Regions from separate parts of the Homo sapiens genome. Here all the other regions are linked to region 1. The links are contacts of gene promoters, found by promoter capture Hi-C in blood cells and fetal thymus (Javierre and others, 2016). All regions are on one chromosome and are shown on one strand. The core of a region is centred on a gene start or on the middle of the fragment in contact, and the rest is flanking DNA. Distances in the headings are between cores, read along the strand shown. Region 1 holds the start of ARL4C (ARF like GTPase 4C). Region 2 overlaps TRPM8 (transient receptor potential cation channel subfamily M member 8). Region 3 overlaps MSL3B (MSL complex subunit 3B). Region 4 overlaps TRPM8 (transient receptor potential cation channel subfamily M member 8). Region 5 has its middle 19 kb from the start of MSL3B.

What was found. The method cuts DNA at HindIII sites, captures the fragments that hold promoters and counts their contacts. A CHiCAGO score of 5 or more calls a contact.
Region 2: a contact is called between a fragment that was not itself captured here and the fragment with the promoter of ARL4C in region 1, in 2 of 17 cell types (total CD4 T cells and naive B cells). The highest score is 6.0, in total CD4 T cells.
Region 3: a fragment that was not itself captured here is called in contact with the fragment with the promoter of ARL4C in region 1 in 8 of 17 cell types (naive CD8 T cells, total CD4 T cells, total CD8 T cells and 5 more); the score reaches 9.7 in naive CD8 T cells.
Region 4: a contact is called between a fragment that was not itself captured here and the fragment with the promoter of ARL4C in region 1, in 6 of 17 cell types (total CD4 T cells, total CD8 T cells, non-activated CD4 T cells and 3 more). The highest score is 10.1, in total CD4 T cells.
Region 5: a contact is called between a fragment that was not itself captured here and the fragment with the promoter of ARL4C in region 1, in 1 of 17 cell types (total CD4 T cells). The highest score is 5.0, in total CD4 T cells.

The regions. Positions count from the first base shown.
Region 1 is chr2:234,495,709-234,498,408 of GRCh38, forward strand. It overlaps ARL4C (ARF like GTPase 4C), which reads right to left and starts at 1,373. Exons shown (of 2, transcript NM_001282431.2): 1 at 304-1,373; 2 at 1-128. The coding sequence starts at 878. The coding sequence ends at 98. RefSeq lists silencers at 951-1,050, 1,161-1,450 and an enhancer at 1,635-2,408. The HindIII fragment of the contact is 13,705 bases long and covers 1-2,700 here.
Region 2 is chr2:233,930,399-233,933,098 of GRCh38, forward strand. It overlaps TRPM8 (transient receptor potential cation channel subfamily M member 8), which reads left to right. Exons shown (of 26, transcript NM_024080.5): 3 at 270-343. Among named protein-coding and RNA genes, the nearest start is that of TRPM8, 14 kb to the left of the region's middle. The HindIII fragment of the contact is 291 bases long and covers 1,115-1,405 here.
Region 3 is chr2:233,862,564-233,865,263 of GRCh38, forward strand. MSL3B (MSL complex subunit 3B) reads right to left here. Exons shown (of 2, transcript NM_001425333.1): 2 at 2,100-2,700. Among named protein-coding and RNA genes, the nearest start is that of MSL3B, 4.5 kb to the right of the region's middle. The HindIII fragment of the contact is 190 bases long and covers 1,267-1,456 here.
Region 4 is chr2:233,953,252-233,955,951 of GRCh38, forward strand. TRPM8 (transient receptor potential cation channel subfamily M member 8) reads left to right here. Exons shown (of 26, transcript NM_024080.5): 10 at 666-768; 11 at 1,881-1,999. Among named protein-coding and RNA genes, the nearest start is that of TRPM8, 37 kb to the left of the region's middle. The HindIII fragment of the contact is 1,060 bases long and covers 869-1,928 here.
Region 5 is chr2:233,885,943-233,888,642 of GRCh38, forward strand. No RefSeq gene overlaps it. Among named protein-coding and RNA genes, the nearest start is that of MSL3B, 19 kb to the left of the region's middle. The HindIII fragment of the contact is 4,896 bases long and covers 1-2,700 here.

The DNA of each region.
Region 1 (2,700 bases), core at 123-2,622:
CCCACCGCGGCCCCCCGACCTGGTCAGTAGCTCTGGCGTTCAGACAAAAGGTCCCCTGAGCTGGGGGTGGGGGGCAGGTCGAGAGTAGGCCGGTAAATCAGACTTCGCAGCTCCTTAAGTCACCAGTCCTGCATTTGGGTGCAGAGATTCCGTTTTAAAAATTCGAAGCATCGCTTTGGTTCGCTCTTTGTTCGCGGGCGCGGGTTCTCGCTCATCCATCCATCCATCCATCCAACCATCCATCCATCCATTCATTCTTTCTTGACGCACTCGCTCGCTCCCCGGTCGCTCCGGGCGCATTACCGCTTCTTCTTCTGCTTGAGGGACTTCCTGCGTTTCAGGATCATCTCATAGAGCTTGTCCATGCCCTCGGTGAGGCCCTCGCCGATGATGGCGCACGCCGGCTGGACGTGATAGGTGGTGGCCGGGATAAGCTCGTGCAGCGCCAGCTGCTTCTCAATCTCTGCCACCGGCAGCGACTTGGGCAGGTCCTGCTTGTTGGCGATGACCAGCAGCGGCGTGCCCTGGTTCTCGGCGAACTTGGTCACCTTGTGCAGCTCCGTCTTGGCCTCCTCCAGCCGGTCCACGTCCACCGAGTCCACCACGTAGATGATGCCGTCCGTGCAGCGGCTGTAGGACTTCCACAGCGGCCGCAGCTTCTCCTGGCCGCCCACGTCCCAGAAGTGGCAGCTGATGCCCTTGGCCGTGCCGTTGCTCAGCTTGATCTTCTCGGTGTTGAAGCCGATGGTGGGCACCGTGTTCACGAACTCGTTGAACTTGAGCCGGTAGAGCACCGTGGTCTTGCCGGCCGAGTCCAAGCCCAACATGACGATATGCAGGGACTGGAAGGCCGAGATGTTAGAGGAGATGTTGCCCATGGCTCCTGGCTGCGGCGCCAGCCACTGCGGCTGCGGCGGGAGGGCGCCGCCCCCCGAGCAGTCACGGGCCCGACGCGGCCGGGCGCACCTGGGCCCCGCCCGCCGCCGCCCGCACCGGCCCCGGGGCTCGGCGTCCCCGCGGGCGCACGGCTTGGCGCGCTCAGACGCCGCAGTCCCCGCGCCCTCGCCGGCCGGGCTCGCGATCGGCGGGCATCGCGTCTCTACGCGCGGCTTTGTCTCCCGCGAAGCCGCCTCAGATGTTCGGCGCCCTCCCCAGGCCTGGGCTCGCTCTGTGGTTTCCTCGGGCCGCGCCCCCGCGCTCCGGCAGCTGCCCGGGCTCTCCGCTCTCCCGGCGCCCGGCGCTCGCCTCTGGCCTGGGACGGCGCTGCTCCTGCTCCTGCTCCCGCTCCCGCTCCCGGAGCGCGGGCTTCCCCGGGAGTCGCTGTCCGCTCGGCAGCCTCACAGTCCCCGCGCCGCCGCAGCAGCCGCCAGCCTGCAGCGGCCGGAGAGCTCCCGGACCCGCCCCCTCGCGCCCCGCCCCGGACCCGCCCCCGGACCCGCCCCGGGCCCCGCCCCGCCCGCCGCCGGGGGTCAGGCGCGGTCCTCCCCGCCCAGCCGGCCGTTTTCGCGCGCTTCGCTGCGTCCCCGCCGCCCCCCGCCGCCCCCCGGCCCCTCCCGCGCCGCGCCGCGCAGACACAATGGGCGCGGAGCCGGCTCTTCCTCCCCAGCGGCTGACGCGTTTGCAAAAATAGCTCTCGGCTCCCGGAATCCCCGCCCGGGTCCTAGCCCGCCCCCTGCCCCTCCGGGCCGCAGCCGTGGGCGACGCAGCCTGCCTGAGGGAGTGGGTCCCGGGGTCCCAGCTCTGTGGGCGCGAGGCGGGGCAGGGCGGCCCCCAGGGTGACTGGGAGAGCGCCGCTCTGGGGAGTGAGGGCGGCGAGGCTGGGGCCTCCAAACCCCAGAAGGGACGGGACGGGGCTGGCCTCGGTGAGCTGCCAGCCTGCGCTCTGGATCCAGCCGGGCGCGTCCCCTCCCACCCTCGCGCCGCGGCTGTCGCCGGCCCCGGCCCCCAGTGACGCCCAGGCTCGCCTCCTGCCTGGGTTCCAGGGGGCTGCACCCGGCCAGCGCCGCCCTCCGGAGCCCAGGCCTGTGCCCAGGGCACCCTGGAGGCCCAGCCTTTCTTGCCCGGTGGCGGCGGTTGGGGCAGGGTCGGACCTAGGCCGCGATGGGGGATTAGAAGACCTACCTGCCCCAAGTAGCTCGGACAGCTCACCCTCCCAGACACGCCTGGGCTACCTCATTTCGTCCGCATCGACTCTGCTGACATCCCAGGGGAAGCGTCAGCATTTCGGGAGAGCACCCCTTGCCACCCGACTTTGGGAACTGAGAACCACCTGCCCGCAGGTGAACTACTCCGCAGAAATGGCAACACCAGCCCCGGGGGCTGAAAGAAAATGTGTCTACAGCTTGGAGCTGGTGGCGCAGTGGGTTACAAACACTGATATTCCACGGGTTCCACCTCCTGTCACCTCAGTTCAATGGTTTTATTCTGGTTTGTAAACATGTAACAAATGTATATCCTCTCTGGGTGCGGAGAAAAGTGAGAGTATATTATGGCAAACACACAGATCTGGGGAGAGCTGCTCCGCAGGAGACAGCAGGCCGCAGCATGGGCGACCGCATCTTCCCAGCTCTAGCTTATGAGACAGAAACGACGGAAACGGGGTCAAGGGAGAAGAAAATGAAAATGCTAAGAATTTATGAATAAAAGCTAGAATTTTAGAGAAATACTTTATCACCTTCTGTTCACAAACCACGAAAAGAC
Region 2 (2,700 bases), core at 10-2,509, 570 kb before region 1:
AATTTGTATGTATATAATACTGTTTATAAATAAGATAAGTCCAAATCACTTCTAGAAAAATTTTCCATTTAGTTATAAAAATTTTAAAGTTTGCATCTTTAAAAAAAATTTTGTATACTCTAAAGGCATGAACAAATGCTGGATGCTATGAATATGTGGTAAATTCTTAAAGCCTTTGAAGTGGGGTTACATCATATTTAGTATTCATCAATATCAGCAAGGGGTGAGAATAAATTAGTAATGTGTTATTCAATGTTCTCTCTCCAAAGGACTTGGTGAATTTTATTCAAGCAAATTTTAAGAAACGAGAATGTGTCTTCTTTACCAAAGATTCCAAGGCCACGTAAGCTACTATTTTCCCTCCAGTTTTGCTTTCCAAGTTCAAAAAAATTATCAGCCACCCTTACAACAAACAAATGCTCCCTAGTTCATTATTAAAGATGTCTTCGTCTTATAATTCTCAGAAACACTGTTTGCGCAGGAAGGATCTGGCAAGGAGCTTATAGTTGTTACTCAGAGCTATACAATTTTGTTTGGTATTTTCAGCTTTGGCCATAGTTGGAAAAGTCGTTGAGGGAGGCTGTCACTCTCTTCAGTATTCCCATGAGATTGGGAACCCACCTGAGTGACCTTGGTAATGAAAGTTGTTTTACAGCTGTTGGCTGGCAATACCATGCATGTGTACATATGTCCATCTTACTGGCTCCTCCGTCAGGCTTTTCTTCCCTGCTGTTGACTTTAGGTCTTTCCTTCTAATTGAGTGTTCATCTGCTCTAAGTCTCATGTGTTTTGGAACATTAAGGCTGGGTTACAAAAGCAGGCTTCACCAGCTCAGCCTACAGGAGTTCTTCAATAACTGTTGATGAGCAAGTGAGTGAGTGAATGGGTCGACTAGTGCTCACCCTTTGTGTAGAAGATGCATTTGAATCTAATTAAACAATTTTCGTCCTACCTCCCACTCTCCTTATTCCTCTCTGCCCCTTCCTTTCTGTTGGCTGGCAATGCAAGAAAGAGTCTAGCTATTAATTGCAAGTTGCTGCTGTAGTTTATAATGAAAAGACTCTCTGTTGAACAGGGTCAATGAACAGAGGAAGGATATAGAAATAAGGAAAAAAGCTTTAGAACCAGCTTTGGTTTCAACCTTGACTTGGCTGACTCCTCACTGTGTGGCCTTGAGCCAATTATTCTCTTTTCTAAAGCTAATTCTCTTATCCTAAAAATCTAGCAAAAGTATACCTCATGGGTTGTGGTATTCAAGACGCAGCATATAAAATACCTACCATAATGCTTCAGAGCATAATTCTTACTTCATGTGAATTAGAAAATGAACACCAGAAAAACTAAGAGATCTCTGCCTTGTCACTGGTAAAAACATACGCATCATGAGTCATTCTGACAAAGTGTAAGCTTTGTAAGACCACTATTTATCCCCTGTATGTTTCATGAATGGGACTTACATACTGGATTGCTAATATTATCAACCTCCTTGCAAGGAAGCTGTTGCTACCTTTAAGGCAAGTGAGGCCCAGAGAAGTTCAGTATTTTACCCATGGTCACATGTGCAGTGGAAGATGGATGAGAGACTTGAGCCCGGGCTTTCTGATTCCAAGGCTGTGCCTTCTCTATACCGTCAGTTGCCTCCCTTTCTAAGAATGGCGTTGCTTTGGGCAGAACAAATTCCTCAACACGTTCTCAGTTACATATGTTCAATCTAACTGGCATAAGTGGAAGCTGGAGCAGGGATTCTGTGGGGTGTGATAATGGGATCTTGTGGCTGAAAAGCACAGCCAGATCCAGGGCTTCAACAACGTCGCCGAGACTCTGTCTCTTTCCACCTGTTGTTCCTGCCCTTCTCTGATGGATGGGCTCTTCACTATTGGAGGCAAAATGGTCATTGTTGGTTGTGCGTTATCAGCTTTCCATTTGCCAGTTAGAGCAAAGAGGGCCTTGCTCCTAGCAATTCCATCAAAAGTCCTGGGCTGATGTTTATGGCTCTTAATGGTCTTGCTTGGAGCATGTGCCTATCTCTAAACTAATCCCTGGGGCTGGAGGATGGAAGTTGAGGGACAGTGGAATATGTTGATTGGCAAGGCTTGGGAGATGTGTCCAGGTGAACTCAATGCAGAAAGGCATGATTCCTCAAGGAAAATCAGGGCGCACTTACTAGTGGAAGGGGAAGTAGATGCAGGTTAGGGAAACCTGTGGCTGTTCACCTTACAGTGCTTGATTACAGCTCAAGTCTGGGTCAAAATGAAGGGAGATGTGGTGGGCAGCCGCAGCCCTCAGCAACACAAGCGGAGCACAGGAACACCTCAGGGTCTTCCAGTTCCCATCTCAGAAGGTATGCAAGGATGCAGGATTCTATAATCTTTGAATCCCCCATGTTTATTATTTCTCTCTCTCCACAGGTAGTGGGATCACTCCATGTAATCTAAGTTACCCATCAGACAAGGGCATCAAATGAAGTGATGATTAATTTTATTGATACCCTGGTTTTGCTGTTACTTGCCACACTAGATGACCTAAGCTGCCAAAGTCTCCCCTGAGAGTTCTCAGGGTTGCCACCCTAGTGCTAAGCCCAACCCACCCTTGCCTCTCTACTCTAACTTCTTGTGGACGCTACTGCAAGATGGTGCCGCACTTTTGCCCCTGCTGCTGTGTCCTCTGAAATGTGCTGCCAGCTTAGGAGCCACCTTCTGG
Region 3 (2,700 bases), core at 112-2,611, 630 kb before region 1:
TTGAAGAGTGTGGCGTTCAGGATTCGTGGAGTTTCAGTGGTGTCAGGGGCTGGTGCAGTCTGTGTAAGTGTGGGTACTCATGTGAGACTGCTGAGTCCTTGGAGAGGTCCATGGAACCCTTTTTCTTCTCAGTCTCCTCTTTTTGTCCTCATTCAGCCAAAGTTACAAGAAAGAATCAAAAAAATTATTCACCTCTTTACCACTATAAATGATTCTTTCTGAAGAGGAGGTTTCATTTGCAAAGATCGTATTTTCAGTTTGAACATTGATCAGCAGAATTTCATTCTTATTTCATCTTTGAATATTTCATTGAATCATCTGTCAGGACAGTAGCTGCACAAAATCATTTAAGACTCTAACAACAGATCTCAAACAATTGTGAGATTAAAAAAAAAAAACATATAGGCTGGGCGTGGTGGCTCACGCCTGTAATTCCAACACTTTGGGAGGCCAAGATGGGTGGATCATTTGAGGTCAGGAGTTCAAGACCAGCCAGGCCAACATGGTGACCCCATCTCCATTAGAAATACAAAAAAATTAGCTGGGCGTGGTGGCACACACCTGTAATCCCAGCCATTGGGGAAGGCTGAGGCAGGAGAATTGCTTGAACCTGGGAGATGGAGGTTGCAGTGAGCTGAGAACACACTACTGCACTCCAACCTGGGCAACAGTGTGAGACTCCATCTCAAAACAAACAAACAAACAAAACAAACAAACTTAGGAATATTATTTTAAGAAGGGATTGGGAGATTTCCTAAGAAAAGAATTTTCAACAACTTGGTGAGAAGCTCACCTTGCCTTTCTTTTAGCTTTGACATAGATTGGACCAAGTCACATAGAATTACTCTAGATACAGGAAGTATTATACAGGAAGTATTATAGAATTACTCCAGATAGCAGGAAGTATTATTAGCGACAGCCTAGACTCTCTCTTAATTGGCCCAAATAAAATCCAAGCTGGCCGGGCGCGGTGGCTCATGCCTGTAATCCCAGCACTTCGGGAGGCTGAGGTGGGTGAATCACGAAGTCAGGAGATCGAGACCATCCTGGCTAGCATGGTGAAACCCCGTCTCTACTAAAAATACAAAAAATTAGCTGGGCGCGGTGGCGGGCGCCTGTAGTCCCAGCTACTGGGGAGGCTGAGGCAGGAGAATGGCGTGAACCCAGGAGGCAGAGCTTGTAGTGAGCGGAGATGGCACCACTGCACTCCACCCTGGGCAACAGAGCGAGACTCCTTCTCAAAAAAAAAAAAAAAAAAAAAATCCAAGCTTATTCTATTATGCATAGCTACTATTTGGGCTGAGGAATTTAAACTGGCTTTATGTAGCTTGATTAAATTCACATTAGTAGCCTTAATTATAGAAATGGCTATTATTTGGGTCTTTCTAAGAGTTGGGAAGGCAACTCATCCTTAAGTTCACTTCAAATTGTCCTTCAAATTGGCTGCACAAGCAAAAGCTTAGGAGAGTTGTATTATAAAATTCAGCTCTCTAGTAAAGCCTAGTATTGGGCAAGAAAAGTAATTATCACCTAGACTTCCTGGTATCATCTCTTTTTATTCATTTTTAAGATAACATGAAAAAACCATTAAATTGGGATTTTGTTTTAGACTATCCAAAGATTGGTTATGGGCATAGATACTTTTTGAGTGAATGGAACACAAGTACGAGCTTCTCCTTCATTGGATAAGAGTAACAGAAGGCTGCCAGACTGAGTGTGTACATAGGAATATGGTAATATGTGAGGGAAAGAGTAACAATCAAATTAGTAAACGGCAGAAAAAATGTTGGGTGGTTTCTATTAACAGTAGGGATTTGCTGCATATATTAACATCAGATTTAAAGGTAATCCTAGTACAAGACCAAAAGATGCTTTGACTAATTTAGTAGAGGCCTGTAACTGCTTGGATACATGAAGCTAAGCCTTGGATATTGGATCAAAGAATAGCTAAAAAAGACCATGAGTTTTTGACATATGCCATGCCATAGAGGTAATACTTTTAAGAGCATCACTGTCCATTAAAAATATGTGAGACACATTGGTCATTTTAAGTTTTTAAAATATTAACATTTTTTAAAAGTAAAAAGAAATAGGTGAAGTTATTTTAAAAACATTTTATTTAACCCAATGTATCTAAAATATTGTCAGTTCGACATTTAACCAATGCTGAAAATTATTAATGAGATATGTTACATTTATTTTTACATATTAAGTCTTCAAACTCCAGTGCTCTAACCTCACACTTAGAGCACGTCTCAATTTGGACTAGCACAGTTCAAGCTCTTAGCCTTGTGACATACCTTATCCTTTCATGGACATGCAAGAGAATTATGATAATCTAGGAAGAATCCATCTGGACACTTACGGGTTTTGCTCAAATTAACTAACCAAAAATACATCCAGCTTTGTCTTTGTACTTCAGATATTGTGGGTGGCACGTCATTCTCTCACAGTATTATCACTTTCCTATTTGATGCTACTGAAGCCACAGTGGGAAGATATGTCTCTGTGGGCTTTCTATTAGGATCACAGAAAGTGAAATCTTTTCTGTTTTCTCTTATGTAGCAATTTGTGGGCTAGCACCTAAGGAATTTCTGACTCTAAAGACTAAATCTTATGTGGTCTAAAATTTACATTAAAATGTCAGCATAGTGTGCAATAAATATGTGGGTTAGTTTTAATTTCTACCTTTGGGGCTGT
Region 4 (2,700 bases), core at 149-2,648, 540 kb before region 1:
ATCCTTATTTCCAAACGTTGCCAGGGAAACCCATCATTGCCTCAAACTCAGTCTAATGGAAACCAGACTTGCTCCCTTGGCTAGAAGGGGCCCTTCTCACCAAGCTCCAGCTGGGCTCGCCAGTGCTTGTAACCTTGAAATTACAGGGTTATTTACTTTTTAAAACGTCTTAAAATTAAACATTACAGAAAAATAACAAAGGACAATATAGAAAATTCTTTATCTGTTTCTCCAGTTTCCAAGCCTTCTTTCTTGTTTGCATTTGAGCTTTTATTTCCTATTGTTTAAATCTTTATGGGCACACTTGGATGGTGTCTACAGTCTTCTATTGTCCCTTCTTTATTTACTTGGTCATTTAATAACTGAGCATCTGCCATGTGCCAGGCTTTGTGACACACACACACACACACAGCACCTGCACGCAGATGCACACATCTCTAGTCAAATGAGGCTCTCAGCTTTTTGATAGGGGCTTTTTGATACGTGTATAACCAATACTTTATTCTCACTGTAGTCAAGGACTCATTGCAATTCAGAAATGAGAAGCTGATCCGGAACTCCACTACAGGTGGTCTTTTTAAAAAGATCTCTCACAAAAAGAAAGAAGTTTATGCTCCTCATGCCTAAAATCTGTTGGCTGACACTTTGTTCTTTAATTTCGCCAGCTCAAAGAAATTCTCGAATGTTCTCACCTATTAACAGTTATTAAAATGGAAGAAGCTGGGGATGAAATTGTGAGCAATGCCATCTCCTACGCTCTATACAAAGGTGAGTAAAAATAGCTCCTTTTGAAGTGTCAGCTTTGTGTTGCCTTCTGTGGCTTTTCATGACTTACATTTCTTTTATAAAACAGCTTTATTGAAAGGCAAGCTTGTACTTAATTTTGATGATCCTAGATTGGAAGCTAGAATAACTACGCTTGTCCTGGTGAGGTGAATCTCCTTGGTTGTATGTATTTGATAGAATAATAATTTTTATGTCATTAAAATACTGGTCAAACAAAATCGCAGTAGTCTCCAAAGAGCTATTTCTAACAGTGGTTGAAAATAATTTTTTTATTGGGCCTCAGATTCCTTTGAGAATATGGCAAAACTATGGATCTTTGTCCTAGCATTCTACATATTTGTACACATATGCACACATACTTCACACCTAAGTAACTTTGCATTTAATTTCAGGGGTTTACAAATTTCCTGAGGCTTATGAATGAACCTCAGGTTAAAAAATTCTCATTCATGATCTTTGCTGCTTTAGAATTCCGTAAAGTGGATGTTACCCATAGTAAATAGATCCTTGGTTGTCTAGACTTGAATTGTGTGACTGATAAATATAAATTAGCTAGAGTAGAGCCAGGCACGTTGGAAGTGCATTTAAAGCATCAGCAATTTATTAGAATCATTCTTATTGTACTTGCCAGACATTTGGTTATAAAGGTATTTATTAAAATGGAATTATATCTGCACAGATACATAGATGCATAAAATATTAGCTCTGGAAAAGACAAGAATGACATTGTTGTAAGGTGGCTTATTGTTTCGTAGATTTAGATGTAGCATAAGTCAGATATGGCCTTGAAATATAATACTATGGAATCTGAATCTATGGAAAAAACCTTTACTATACCATTATTACACTGCTAGGATATGCAATGGAAAAACATTACTGTAGCCTGAGTTGATCCCCATTATAAACTTTGGGACATACAGAATGTGGTTAAGAATGAGTGAAGATAGAGTGAATGACAGTTTGAGTGTCTGAATGTAAGAGAACATGATCAGCATTACCTGTGATAAACAGCTCTGATAATTGGCCACACTGAATGGTTCTCACTCTTATTTCTGAGCCTTTGGTGAGTTGAGTCTTTTCCTGCCCTCTCACAGCCTTCAGCACCAGTGAGCAAGACAAGGATAACTGGAATGGGCAGCTGAAGCTTCTGCTGGAGTGGAACCAGCTGGACTTAGCCAATGATGAGATTTTCACCAATGACCGCCGATGGGAGGTAAGCACGAAGCTCTCCTGGGTTATTCCAGTGTTGGGTCTGGACAGTGGTCTGGGCAATGTCTGATCCATTTCCAACAAGGTCTTCAATACCAAATCTCTTAAAGGATTGTTCTGTTCCAGAATATCAGGATTGCTGAGGCTTAATTTCCTTGTTTGCAGCATGGAATCATAACATTGACTTAGTAGGTTTGTTGTGAAGAGATAATAAAAATAAATGGTATAAAATAACATCAACTCCACATTGCCTTCAGCTGCAAAGTGAGGGTGATTCTCCATCTGGGTGTAGAGATGCAGATCTCCTTCTGGATGTGTGTGGGCAGAAGTATGGGAAAAATATATGCTAGATGATTGAAAGTAGCTCAACTATAAATCCAGACGGCAGCACTCTTTTTGCTCCCTGCCCCCACCTGCCTAGCCAAATTCTGATTAGAGAACCGTCCGTAGTGAGATACATAAGAGACAAATAGAACAACTTGACTGACGCTCCCCAGTGAACGTCTTAGAGCAGGGGTGCCGGTCCATGGCCTGTTAGGAACAACAGGAAGTGAGCAGTGGGCGAGCAAGTGAAACTTCATCTGTATTTACACCAGCTCCCCATTGCTCACATTACCGCCTGAGCTCCGCCTTCAGTCCGATCAGTGGCGGTATTCGATTCCTATAGGAGCGTGAACCCTGTTGTGGACTGTGCATGTGAGGGAT
Region 5 (2,700 bases), core at 96-2,595, 610 kb before region 1:
TCTCTTGACCTCGTGATCCGCCCACCTCGGCTTCCCAAAGTGCTGGGATTACAGGCGTGAGCCACCGCACCCGGGCCCTCTTTCTTTAACTGACTCCTTACTGATGAGTAGATGGTTCTCATCTCTCATCTCTGACAGTTGAAGAAAAATGTGTGTCCTCAGTGTCCCTGTGTATGCACACAACAGGAATAGGTGAGTAGGATTAATTCAGAGATAGAAAATTGTGGCGTTAAAGGGTATATCCCCACAGTATTTGATAGACGTTGCCAAACTGCTCACCTTGAGGATTTGGGAACCTGAAGTTTGGGAACATCATTGTTGTGCAGCTTCATCTTTGAAGGGCACTCAGCGCTTATGATTATAGGGGAACCTGAATGGATGATCATTCCTTCTTCCTGCTTATTGAGGGGGACAGAACAATGGCCAGCACTACCACAGAAAGGATAGTGACAATAGTAGTGACAATAAATATACTTTTATTTGGTTAAATCTTTCCCCTGTTTAATGCAAGATTTATCATTAAAGAGGACTACACAAAACATTAAGAGAACTCCGAGATGGAGTTTAACAAAGGTTGTTAAACCAATTTACAGTCCTGTAAGCAATGTTCTCATGTTATCGCAATCTTTGATCTTTGCTAATCTGATACGTAAACTCTTATATCATTTTAGTTTTCCTTATCATCTTGAGCATATTTTTATAGGTTTAATGGCCATTATTTTTCTTTTTTCTGTAAAATATCCTTTTTTGTCCTTTGACTGTTACATGCTCTTCTCAGGGTATTAATGGGCCTTATGGATGCCCTTGATTGAACAACTCTGTCTTGGGTAATGTAATGGAATTGGGAGCTGAATCCCAGGGTAATCCACTTCCTGCAACAGGTAATAAAATAGGTAATAACAAAAACCCCATTTACTGAGCAGGGACTGTGCTTAGTAGTTTACATACATTGTATCCCTCCATGAAAGGAGGGAGACAACCTGTGTTGAAGTCCCAATTCTGCAATTTGTAACCAAGTCTACATTGGGCAATATATCTGAGCCTCAGTTATGTCATCTGTAAAATGGGGATAATACCTCCCTCATAGAGTTATGGAGATTAAATAAAATAAACTAGGTAAAAACACCTGGTGCCATGCTTGGCATAAGTATAATGGGTGCTAAGGAATGTTGATTTCCTAACCATGCTGGCATGAGGCTGAAGAAAAGACAAAAGAGAAGGGCTACTTCCAAATCACATTGCAATGATGTGAGTAGGAGTGACAGATGTCCTCCTGGATATGTTGGTAGGAAAGAAAGCTGGGTGACAACAGCAACATTTTTCAATTAACATCCCAAATCTCATAGTTTCTCTGAGGTCTGGAAGAAAACTATTAACTTATTTCAGAGCATGACTCTTGGATCTATAATAGCTTTATAGTTTTAAAAGGCCAAATGAAAACCAAATAAGTATTAATGCAAATATGAGGGCAGAGATTTCTAAATGGCTCTGGAACAGACTTTAGCTAAATGACTTTCCTTCTCTTCTTTTTGGAGGGCAATGCTTTTGCATTTTCCAGGTGCCTGCTTAGTTGTCTCTTGGCTTTCACAGCATACCTAACATGTTGTGGATGGAGCCTAATGGGCCATTCTGCCTCAGAAGGGTCTAATAATATCACACTTCTTTGAAATGGCCCTGAACTTGGAATATTGCCTTTAGGGTTGTGGCTTTCCTCTTTACCGTACTGTGAGGCTTTTACTAACCTTTCTGATAAGTTTGAGGATTATGGCAAGGAACCTTCTATACCACTCTGTTTTCTTGGGTTGAATTCCCTAAGGCAGCTTATCTGTTGAAGAGTTGAAGTTCAGCTCTAAGTCCCATTTATGTCAGGGGTTATACATTCATTTCAAGGTGTACTTGTTCTTTAATTGAATACAAGTCTTAGGGAAGGGAGCATGTCTATCAGAGTCACAGGGAGGGTCACTTGATGTGAAACTAACATCCTGAAAGTTGGGCTTATATATCCTATTGCTGGGAAGAGCAGGTAACGGATTACCTCATTTCATCATTAATGCAAGAAATTAGACCTGTTGCAGGTTCAGAGGGGAGCCAGTGACTTGGCTTGACCACCTGCAACAACCCTCACCACTATTTACCCACATTAATCTTATCTACAATTCCATTATATTGGGAAATGTGGATGAGAAAGTTGAGAACACCATTGTTGTGTGGCTGCATCTTTGAATGGCACTCAGAGTTTATGATTATAGGGAAGCCTGAATGGATGATCATTCCTTCTTCCTGCTTATTGAGGGGGACAGAACAATGGCCAGCACTACCACAGAAATGATAGTGACTATAGTGGTGACAATAAATATTTTGGTTAAATATTTTCCCTCTTTAATGCAAGATTTATCATTAAAGAGGACTACACAAAACATTAAGAGAACTCTGAGCTGGAGTTTAACACAGGATGTTTATTTGGGGATGCACTTGGGATCAAACCTTGAGGAAGAGGATGAAAATGGGAGTAGGCAGAAGGAGAAGTCAGGCTGGGATGGAGACCCAGTGACAGCCTCGGACAACAGGGAACTCTGAGGTTAGATGGTTCTTCAGAGCTCCTTGCATTGGACCAAGAAGGTCAGGCCTTTCGATGCTTCCATTGGTCAGTTACTGGCTGTGGGACACTCTGTGAAGGGGCACACCTTAGGCCAGGGGTCC